2 separate regions of the Homo sapiens genome follow, and region 1 is linked to region 2. Evidence: promoter capture Hi-C in 16 types of primary human blood cells and fetal thymus (Javierre and others, 2016). All regions are on one chromosome and are shown on one strand. Each heading gives the region's core, a stretch centred on a gene start or on the middle of the fragment in contact. The rest is flanking DNA. Distances are from core to core; before and after follow the strand shown. Region 1 has its middle 91 kb from the start of LINC02752. Region 2 holds the start of GALNT18 (polypeptide N-acetylgalactosaminyltransferase 18).

Region 1 (4,326 bases), core at 896-3,395, 600 kb after region 2:
TACACAATAAATCATTCCTTCACATTTCACTGTATTCTAAAAAAATGTTTGTGATTACTTTTCACAAATACAGCTAGTAGAACTCAATTGGGAGTATTGAGTTTCAGGAAAAATAAGAGTGGAAAGTCAAATTGTTAAGTGCATCGTCAGTCCAAATGAGGTCAGTGGCAGCACTTGGGGAACAATCTGAGGTACTCCTTGAGGTTTGGTCCTTGGACTCTTGAAGCAGGCAAGGCTGTGGACAACTGGTTTGAATGGGACAACTGCCAGAGAAAGTCCCATCAAGCTATGATGACCACAGAAAAGTTGACCAAAGACCATGGAGGGTGACCTGCAAGTGGACCAAGCCTGTCAATAGGATTTTGGGAACAGATCCCACAGATCTGGTACCATGCTGCCTCATTTTCTCCCAAGTGGGTCAGTGTTTGGAGTCTAGAAACAACATGTTTTAACAACTCAAAATTCTTCATTGGGTTGGGGCGTTATCAAAGCCAGTTACAGCCCATATCCTTTTTATCTGCCCCTCCTGTAAAAGGCAACCAAGCTCATGGATTCCTTGTAGTTGTCTGAACGTTTCCTTGGTCAGTGTTCCTTCTTTACTCCAAAAGACCCTTTACAACTAGAAATATAGGCCATTCTCTTGGGACCTCCTAATGGCTATTATCTAAAATTCTCCTGATGATACAGATACACACTCAAATATTAGAATAGCATAAACATTTTTCAGACTAGAGTTTCCAGTCTGTGCTTCTGGACAATGAGCAGCCAGATTAGACCCCTAATTCCTAAGCCTACCACTGGGCAGGACGGCAAGTGGTCACTATCAGAGAGGCATGGCAGCACCATACCAGATACAGAATAATAGTTGAAGAGCAGAACGCGAATGAGCAATTAAGTTGCCTCAGTTTGCCAGTAAATCTGAGAACAGACCAACTTTGCTGGGATATAGATTACAGCAGGTAGAAACTGATTTTGTCACCCTCTGGCAATTTAAGCCCCTGATCTTTCCCTCAATTCCTGCCCCATATCAGGGAGCTAGTCATGCCATTGGGCTTTTCATGCCAGTATTTCTCAAACTAAGCCCACTGGACATTTTCTCTGAGTTCATGAGATTCTGATATTGTTTTTTTAATTTGTTTTCATATTGATGAAAATATAAAAATAATCAATATTCATATCTTGTGGGTCAACTGAATGACCAACTCAAACCACAGAATTTCTATGTCCACATGTAGATTTGTGTTTATGACAGCATAAGGGTCAAATAGAACTGCTTTAATTCTCTCAGACTAGTGAAAAATGAGTGTGATGGACTTCAACACAAACAATGTGATCATTGACAAGTGAGGAACAAATGACCTCACAGCATCCTGTAGAAACAAAAGTGTCATGATATTTAGGATAGAGGAAGATGGAAGACACACTGAGTCATCATGCGGCATGCAGCACATTCAGCAGAGTCGTGGCCAACTCACACAAACCTGTGCCATAGCCCCAGGACCATATCCACATGGCAAGAAATGATTTTGTTTTAGCAAACCAACATCATTGATCCTATTAAAGATTAATCTTAATTCTATTGATTTTGTGGATTTGTTTGTATTTTATAAATTCATAAAAGCTTGTCTAAGCTTTTATGTTAAATGTTAATGTTTACACAGTATTGCTTATACTTAAATTTATACATGGGTTATGTTTTTAAGATTATACTTAGTTTAGCATCTGTGTATATTTAAATTAATTATGATAATAAAATTATTTGTCAGCATTGTTTTCTTCTAAAAAGAGACTATGCATCATTCAAGCTGGAAGCACTATTTATTATTCTCTGAATATTACATCATCAATTTCTCTAATACAGTGGCACTTGCCCCCCATTGGTCAATGGGTGTGTCTAATGTATTCTAATGGTTAGACTAACTTCTTTACTTTGTTCTGGCCTCCTTGTTCAAAATCCATGCTCCTGAAGAATGCTGAAATGATCAGTAGTGTTAAACAGGAGTAGAACATAAAGTCCTAGAAGGTTCTCAAGGCAAGTCCTCAAGGGCTAGCATTTTGTCAGAAGGGAAAAGCAGAAACCCAGCATCAGATCTAGGTAAGACTTAGTTGTACCCAGGCAGCAGGACAGTCCAATGCTCAACCCTGGGTTATCTTGATCTCCTCCCACCATAACCATTAAAAACAGGCCTGGAGGACCAAGCCTGCAGCTGAAAATCCACCGGCCCCAGTTGTGAAGTGGCAAAGGCTGAGAGGCAGGACCCAGACTGGTGAATTCACAGATCCATTGCTGGCCACAGAGAAAACAAATTATTTTAGATATAATTAAGTGTAGACAACAAAACACCAAGGCCATCCCAATAAAACATCACATTACTTCTGACTTGAGCTATACAAAAGAAGAGAAGCAAGATCCCGTTAGAAGAAATTGTTGACATATTAGAGCTTTGCCCTTAAGCCCCATCCATGGCCCTTTAAATGTGACCAGCATGTATATGGACAGCGCTGGGATCTGAGGAGGGGATGCCACCTGGGACAGAATGACAGTCAAGGTTAGTAATGCTCGCTCTGGGCCACTGCCTAGAACAGTTCCTGCCTGTCCTGAAGCAAATACCCACAAAATCCAAGAGAGCTATATGAACGAAGGAGGTAGACAAGCTTTTATATGCAGACACACTTGGTTTATATTAAATACATACACATACTTTTTAATCCCACAAAGAACTGTGCTTTCTGCCATTTTTCTTGAAACATACAACCCCTTTTGGGCTACCTTTCATGGGTTTTCATTGTTACTAAAGACATGGATACACACAAATACTTTTATATCATAAGGGAAACAATAGTGCAAGGGTGCTGCAAAGGATAAGGGACACACAGTTTAAAGTTAAGAGATGGTGTGCTGAACTCAGCAGCACTCGGTCTGAAAATTGCAGGCCCTGCCCAGGCCTGCTGAAGCCACTGTATATGCCTTGCTAAGGCAAACATCAGTTCTTCTCAGCATTAATTCCAGGTGCCTACAAAGGGAGCAGAGGATGAAATGATGTTCAAAGGACATTCATCCTTTGGATTTGGGCCAACCATTCTCCAGTGTAACCAGTTTGCTGCTGGGCATCTTTTTCTGTAATACATTTATTAATTAACAACCTATATCAGATCATAGAAGTAGATTCCCAACGCAGAATACCATTACGTGTCTGGGTACACATAATGATGCCATTCCCACATCTTGGCCAACAGCCCACACTGACACGGCCCTGCTGATGTGGGTATAACACATTCTATTAAATGAAAAACCTAACATAATGGCAGCTATTAATACCTTCTAATATTAATAGGCAGCATTAATCTTATGCAATAGAATCTGTCCACTTACCAAGCACTTCGTTTCACAGCTTTTCCCAATTTCTTTAAGTGTCCTCCCACCACCCTGATCACTATCTGCTGGACACTCTCTGATTTGTCATAACTACCAAGGTGAGGGCTGGAGGGGCCACCAATGCACTAACAGCACATAAAAAGTAACCTCAATTGGGACTCTAAAGCTCTCTTATTCTCTCAGCTACATCCACCCCAAGAGGAGAATGAACACAGGAGACATCCTCTTTAGTATAACACACTCTTACTATCCTTCAGATCTCAGCTTTGGTGTCACTTCCATCGGGAAGACTTATCTGCCTGTCTCCTCTACTTCAGTAACAACAACAACAACTGGATTAAATGTGCTCCAACAAGGTTCCCCAGGACTGTTGGTTTTTCCGTATTTGCCATCACCTCCTGTGGTCTTCTTGTTAGCAGGGGGCATATCTCCAACCAAAGCATAGAAAGCATTCAATAAATATTGAGTAAGTGGACAAATGACTGAACAGATTTTTAGATGGATTAATGCATAGGTAGATGGCAGCATGGGTGGATGGGTGGGTGGCTGGGTGGATGGATGGATGGATGGATAGATGGGTGGGTGGGTGGATGGATGGATAGATGGGTGGGTGGGTGGGTGGGTGGATTGTTGGATGGATGGATGGATAGATGGATGGATGGATGGATGGATGGATGAATGTTCTTTGACTTTGTTAGAGGTTCTGTCTAAGGAAAGGAGTGTTCTCTGGTATGATGGTTTAAGGGTGATCTTGCCACAAGATGGCGCTCATAATTTTCTTAATTTATGGGTTTTATAGAAAATTTCCATTTCAAATTTTAAATTGTCTTAGAATCATTATATATGTTTCACAGCTAATGTAACTTATTTACTATACTGTCCATGTTTCATGTTCCAACACATTTCACTCAATAACCAACATGCTCTTTCCTCCTGGAACATCAAAACGA
Region 2 (4,341 bases), core at 1,383-3,882:
TTGTGAGCAAAGCCTTTATGCCCCCTCCCACTTCCTTTGTTTGCAACCAAGGGATTAGGGGTCTTGAGTGGAAAAGTTGAAGGTACTGGGGGTGACCAGTACCTTGAAGAAACCAGCCTTTCATTTTGAATATTTTATCAACCTATGCAGATCATTGTACTACTGATGGTGAAGACAGACATTATGAATAGAAAGCCAATGTGCTGGAGCCCAGCTAGCGACGATGAGATGAGCCCCTTGGTGCTCATAGCTTTAGTTCCTGTTAGCTTCCATTAGGGGAGAGAGGGCTGATACTGGTAGGTAGAGAAACCAAGTATTGCTAAACAGCAGGATGGAGGTCACGGAGCTGAGCTCTGGCCTGGAAAGGGAGTGACCATATCTGGAAGGAAACTCACATGATCCTAACCACTCACTATGTGTCCTGCACTAATTAAAGCCCTTTCTGGAACATTCTCTCAGTTAATTTTCACAGCCTGTCCTCAGTAAGGTATTGTCTACCTACATTTGATACATGGGAGAAATTGAGCCCTACTGACTTTTTGAAATGTGTCCAGGCTCTCATAACTAATACATGGTGGATCTGGGATTAGAACCCTGGAGTCTGCCTGCACCTCCAGAGAAAATTCTTTGAACAGGTCAACTCAAACCTGTGACTTTTCAGAGAGGAGAACCTGTTCAGCATTCTTCTTTTGTTGTATTCATCCCCTCTACAGTTACACATTATCTTAGAGGATCAGCTGTACAAAATTTAAGATCACACAATTCACTTTGTTTTCTTCTTGACCCTCATTTTTTTAAACTTGGGATTTAATTTTTTTCCATTAAGAATGTGAAAAGAATGAGTATTGCCTTCTCTTTCTAGTCCTGTGGTGGTTTAGGAAGATCCCAAGAAGGGCTGAACTTCCAGGGCTCCTCCTGGGAGAGGGGGCAGAACAGAAGGAAAGATTACACCTTAGCCTGTACTCAAGGGCATTGCTTGTAAGTCTGTCCAACCAGAAGAAAGTTCAGATCCTTTATTTGTGAGCTGGATTATACCTCTGGAAGAGAAAAAAGGGAGAGACAAGTTTTACTCCCTCCTGGAGGCAGATTTCTCTACCTTGATTTTTTCAGAAATTGTGTACATTCTCTCCTCTCATGTATGTATCTCCTACATACCATACACACGATTCTTCTCCCCCTTCTATACCCCAGCCCACGCCAACCCACACCCACTGTTCTCTCTTCCAGCTATGGATCAAGGGAAATCTTCCCGGGTCCCTAGTTGGTATCTGTTTTCATAGCATCTTTGGGGAGGTTTTGTAAACAAAGCATTGGTAGAAGGGCCCTTGGCTGATGGGGCCATAAAGTGCCCTTTCTTTGGTTTTGTGCTCTCCCTCTCTTGTGGGGCCAGTCATTTGAATCCAGAAGATATCCCAGGATGGAGCTGCCCTGAGTATTTCTGTGGCTGGTTGGAAGGCTGGCACACAACAAAGTGGGCATGCAGCAGGCTGCCTCCCTGGCTTAGGCCAAAAAAATAAAGCAACTCAGAGATGGAGAAGAGGCAGGAAATCTATGTTGTAAAAAGTCTTTGTTTAAAGGAATTCCGTTCAGGTGCTGAGAACGGGGTGTTCAGCAGAAGAGGATAATATGAGTAAACATTGGCAGTAAGAACAAACACAGCAGTATCACTGTCTGCGTCTGGCCTCCTCCTGTGCTCAGTCACAGGTCTCTCCCACCGCCCTCTATGATAGCAATCATAAACAACATGTAGAAGGGCTTTACAGTTCACAGACCTCAGTTCCCCTCAGCGGCACTTCCTTGCAGGGTTTCTTTATGCACTGGATGACCCTGGTTCCACATAAATGAAAACTGGGCTTAAAGGACACATCCATGTCCTGGGAGCTGTACAGACTTAAAGAAAAACCTAGATAGGGGCAAAAATTGGGGCAGGCGGTGGGGGTGGGGGGTGGGGGGTGGGGGGGGGGAAGAAGTGGTCGAGAGAGTCATCTAATAGGTCACCAATGTTGCTTCTGGGAGGTTGCCGGAGGGTTGGCTCCTTTCAGCCAGGTTTAGGGCCAGGTCTGGACACACTCAGGAGGCCGGTGGCTGAAGGGCAGAGGGCAGGGTGGAGGCCCAAGTGAGGCCAAGGAAGGAGTGGATGCCGCTGGGGCTGGCACTTCCTTGGCTTCTCAGCGTCCTGGCAACCAAGAAAAGATTCCAGGAGTCGACTGGTGGCACCAATGCGAGAAGCCCCGGGCGGATGAAAGAAGCTGACCCGTGCGAACCCCCCACCCCCTCCACAAAACCAGGAGATTCCTGCCCAAGAGCAAGAGATGGAATTCCCCTAACGGAGGAAGCTGCCGACCTAAGGGCTGGGACTGGCAGCGCGCCCTCTCCGGGAGCTTCAGGTCTGGGGCAGCCTGTGCAGGCGCGGGTGGAGGCCCGGGCGCGTCCCTGGGGGCGGGAGCCAGGGGCGGCCAGCAGGTGGGGCCTGGGAGCTGGACTCCGCCCCCCGCTCCCTCCCCGTTGGTCCGCTGCCGCTCAGCACCGGCCCCTCTCCCGAGCCGGAGCGCGATTGGTGGCAGCGCTTGTCGCTCGGAGGGGGCCGGGCCGCTCTGCTTCGCGGCTCTCCCCGCCGCCGCTGCCGCTGCCGCTGTTCTCCTAGCAGCGCGGGCCGGTCGGACCGCCAAGGCAGCCGGCGCTGGCGATGGGAAGCGGCGTGGCCGCCGACACAGGCAGTGGCAAAGTTTCCCAGACGTACACATCTGGACGCGCGGCTGCCGGCTACCCGTGACCCCTCTAGGAAGGGTTCAGGGATTTTTAATTTGGAAAAAAATCCACCTGGTTTCCTTTGTCAAGGTCTCTCCGGGTGGCCAGCGGCAGGAGCTGCAAACTTGGGCACGGCGGCTACACCGGCAGCGGACCGGGCTTTGGAGAACCTCGGGACTCAGGTGCTGAGGTGCCCAGCGGCTCCGGACGTGCTACGGGGTGCGAGCGCGGGGGAGTTCGGGGCGCACGACAAGGAAGGGCCCCCGGGAGCTCTATATGGAGGAAGGAGCCCAGAATGGTGTGCACCAGGAAGACCAAAACTTTGGTGTCCACTTGCGTGATCCTGAGCGGCATGACTAACATCATCTGCCTGCTCTACGTGGGCTGGGTCACCAACTACATCGCCAGCGTGTATGTGCGGGGGCAGGAGCCGGCGCCCGACAAGAAGCTGGAGGAAGACAAAGGGGACACTCTGAAGATTATTGAGCGGCTGGACCACCTGGAGAATGTCATCAAGCAGCACATTCAAGGTACGGGCGCCCCGGAAACTTGGGTCGCCCATGAGGCCCGGGAGTGCCCCGCGCGGCGCGGGGTGCGCTGGGGCTGGTGCGCATCAACTCAGCCACGGCGGGGCTCTGGGGCCGCAGATGCGTGGTAGTCGTGGGGCCTGCGTGTGAGCTCCTGCCTGCGTTCGGGACCTTCTGTCTGCGGCCGTGCGCTCTTCCCCGGGGCACACGTGTGTGCGCAGGGCTGCACGAGCGGATGTGTGCAGCTAGCTGGCGGTATGGGGGCGCGCTGCGCACGTGTCCAAATGTGCGTGTGACTCTGGGCTGGTTGCTCGCGGGCTCTCGGGATCGCACACAAGTCCGGCTCAGAGTGTGTGTGCATGTGAATGTCTGTGTGTGTACAAGAGGGAACGCGCGGGCAAACGAGCTTTTTTGGCCACTGTAGGCGTCAGGCGAGATGCCCGCGCGGCGGCCCTGACTATTGGCAGTTAAGACCCGCAGGCTGCCGGACAAGCGAGGCTAGGAAAATTGCGTTGTATCAGCCCCAGCCCCAGTCTTGCTGTGATCCCGTTGGTAGGCGATAGGGAATGCAAGGAGCCCTCTGTGGTTGAAAAGCCGCTTGAACCTATAGCAGTCCCTACCCCCACCACAGCCCGCGGGTCCAGGACCCTCTCCAGGAGCAGGTGTCAACGCCGGGAAGTAGCGCTGGAGTCTCTGTCCACTGTGGTGATGACTCCGCCCAAGACTGGAAGAACACGCCCTGGGCTGCGCCTTCCCCGCGGAGCCGCCCGGGACCGGGTGAAGGCCGATCCCTACTGTAGCTCCACTCTCAGGCCCTGGGAGCAGCCGGGGCTGAGCAGACCTGGGTTGGGTCTGAAGTGTAAGGTTACGCTGGTTGGGTGCGCTCCAGACCAGCGCGGGGGTCCAAAGGGAGGGTGGGGGTTGCAGGGCGCTCTCCCGAGGCGACCTGGTCAATGAGCTGTCATGGGAGGGAATGGAGTTCCGGGCGCCAGGAGCACTGGTGCCGGGTGTGCACACACACACACACACGCGCGCGCGCGCGCGCTCACGTCCACACTTCCTCCCC

The links. Contacts are between HindIII fragments. The CHiCAGO score rates a contact against its expected background, and 5 or more counts as called.
Region 1: a contact is called between a fragment that was not itself captured here and the fragment with the promoter of GALNT18 in region 2, in 1 of 17 cell types (M2 macrophages). The highest score is 7.0, in M2 macrophages.

What each region holds. Positions count from the first base shown.
Region 1 is chr11:11,022,372-11,026,697 of GRCh38, reverse strand. No RefSeq gene overlaps it. Among named protein-coding and RNA genes, the nearest start is that of LINC02752, 91 kb to the left of the region's middle. The HindIII fragment of the contact is 1,024 bases long and covers 1,634-2,657 here.
Region 2 is chr11:11,620,296-11,624,636 of GRCh38, reverse strand. It overlaps GALNT18 (polypeptide N-acetylgalactosaminyltransferase 18), which reads left to right and starts at 2,632. Exons shown (of 11, transcript NM_198516.3): 1 at 2,632-3,278. The coding sequence starts at 3,044. RefSeq lists silencers at 2,330-2,689, 3,440-3,519, 3,540-3,609 and enhancers at 2,192-2,692, 2,810-2,889, 3,100-3,149, 3,890-4,119, 3,782-4,341 and 1 more. The HindIII fragment of the contact is 10,916 bases long and covers 1-4,341 here.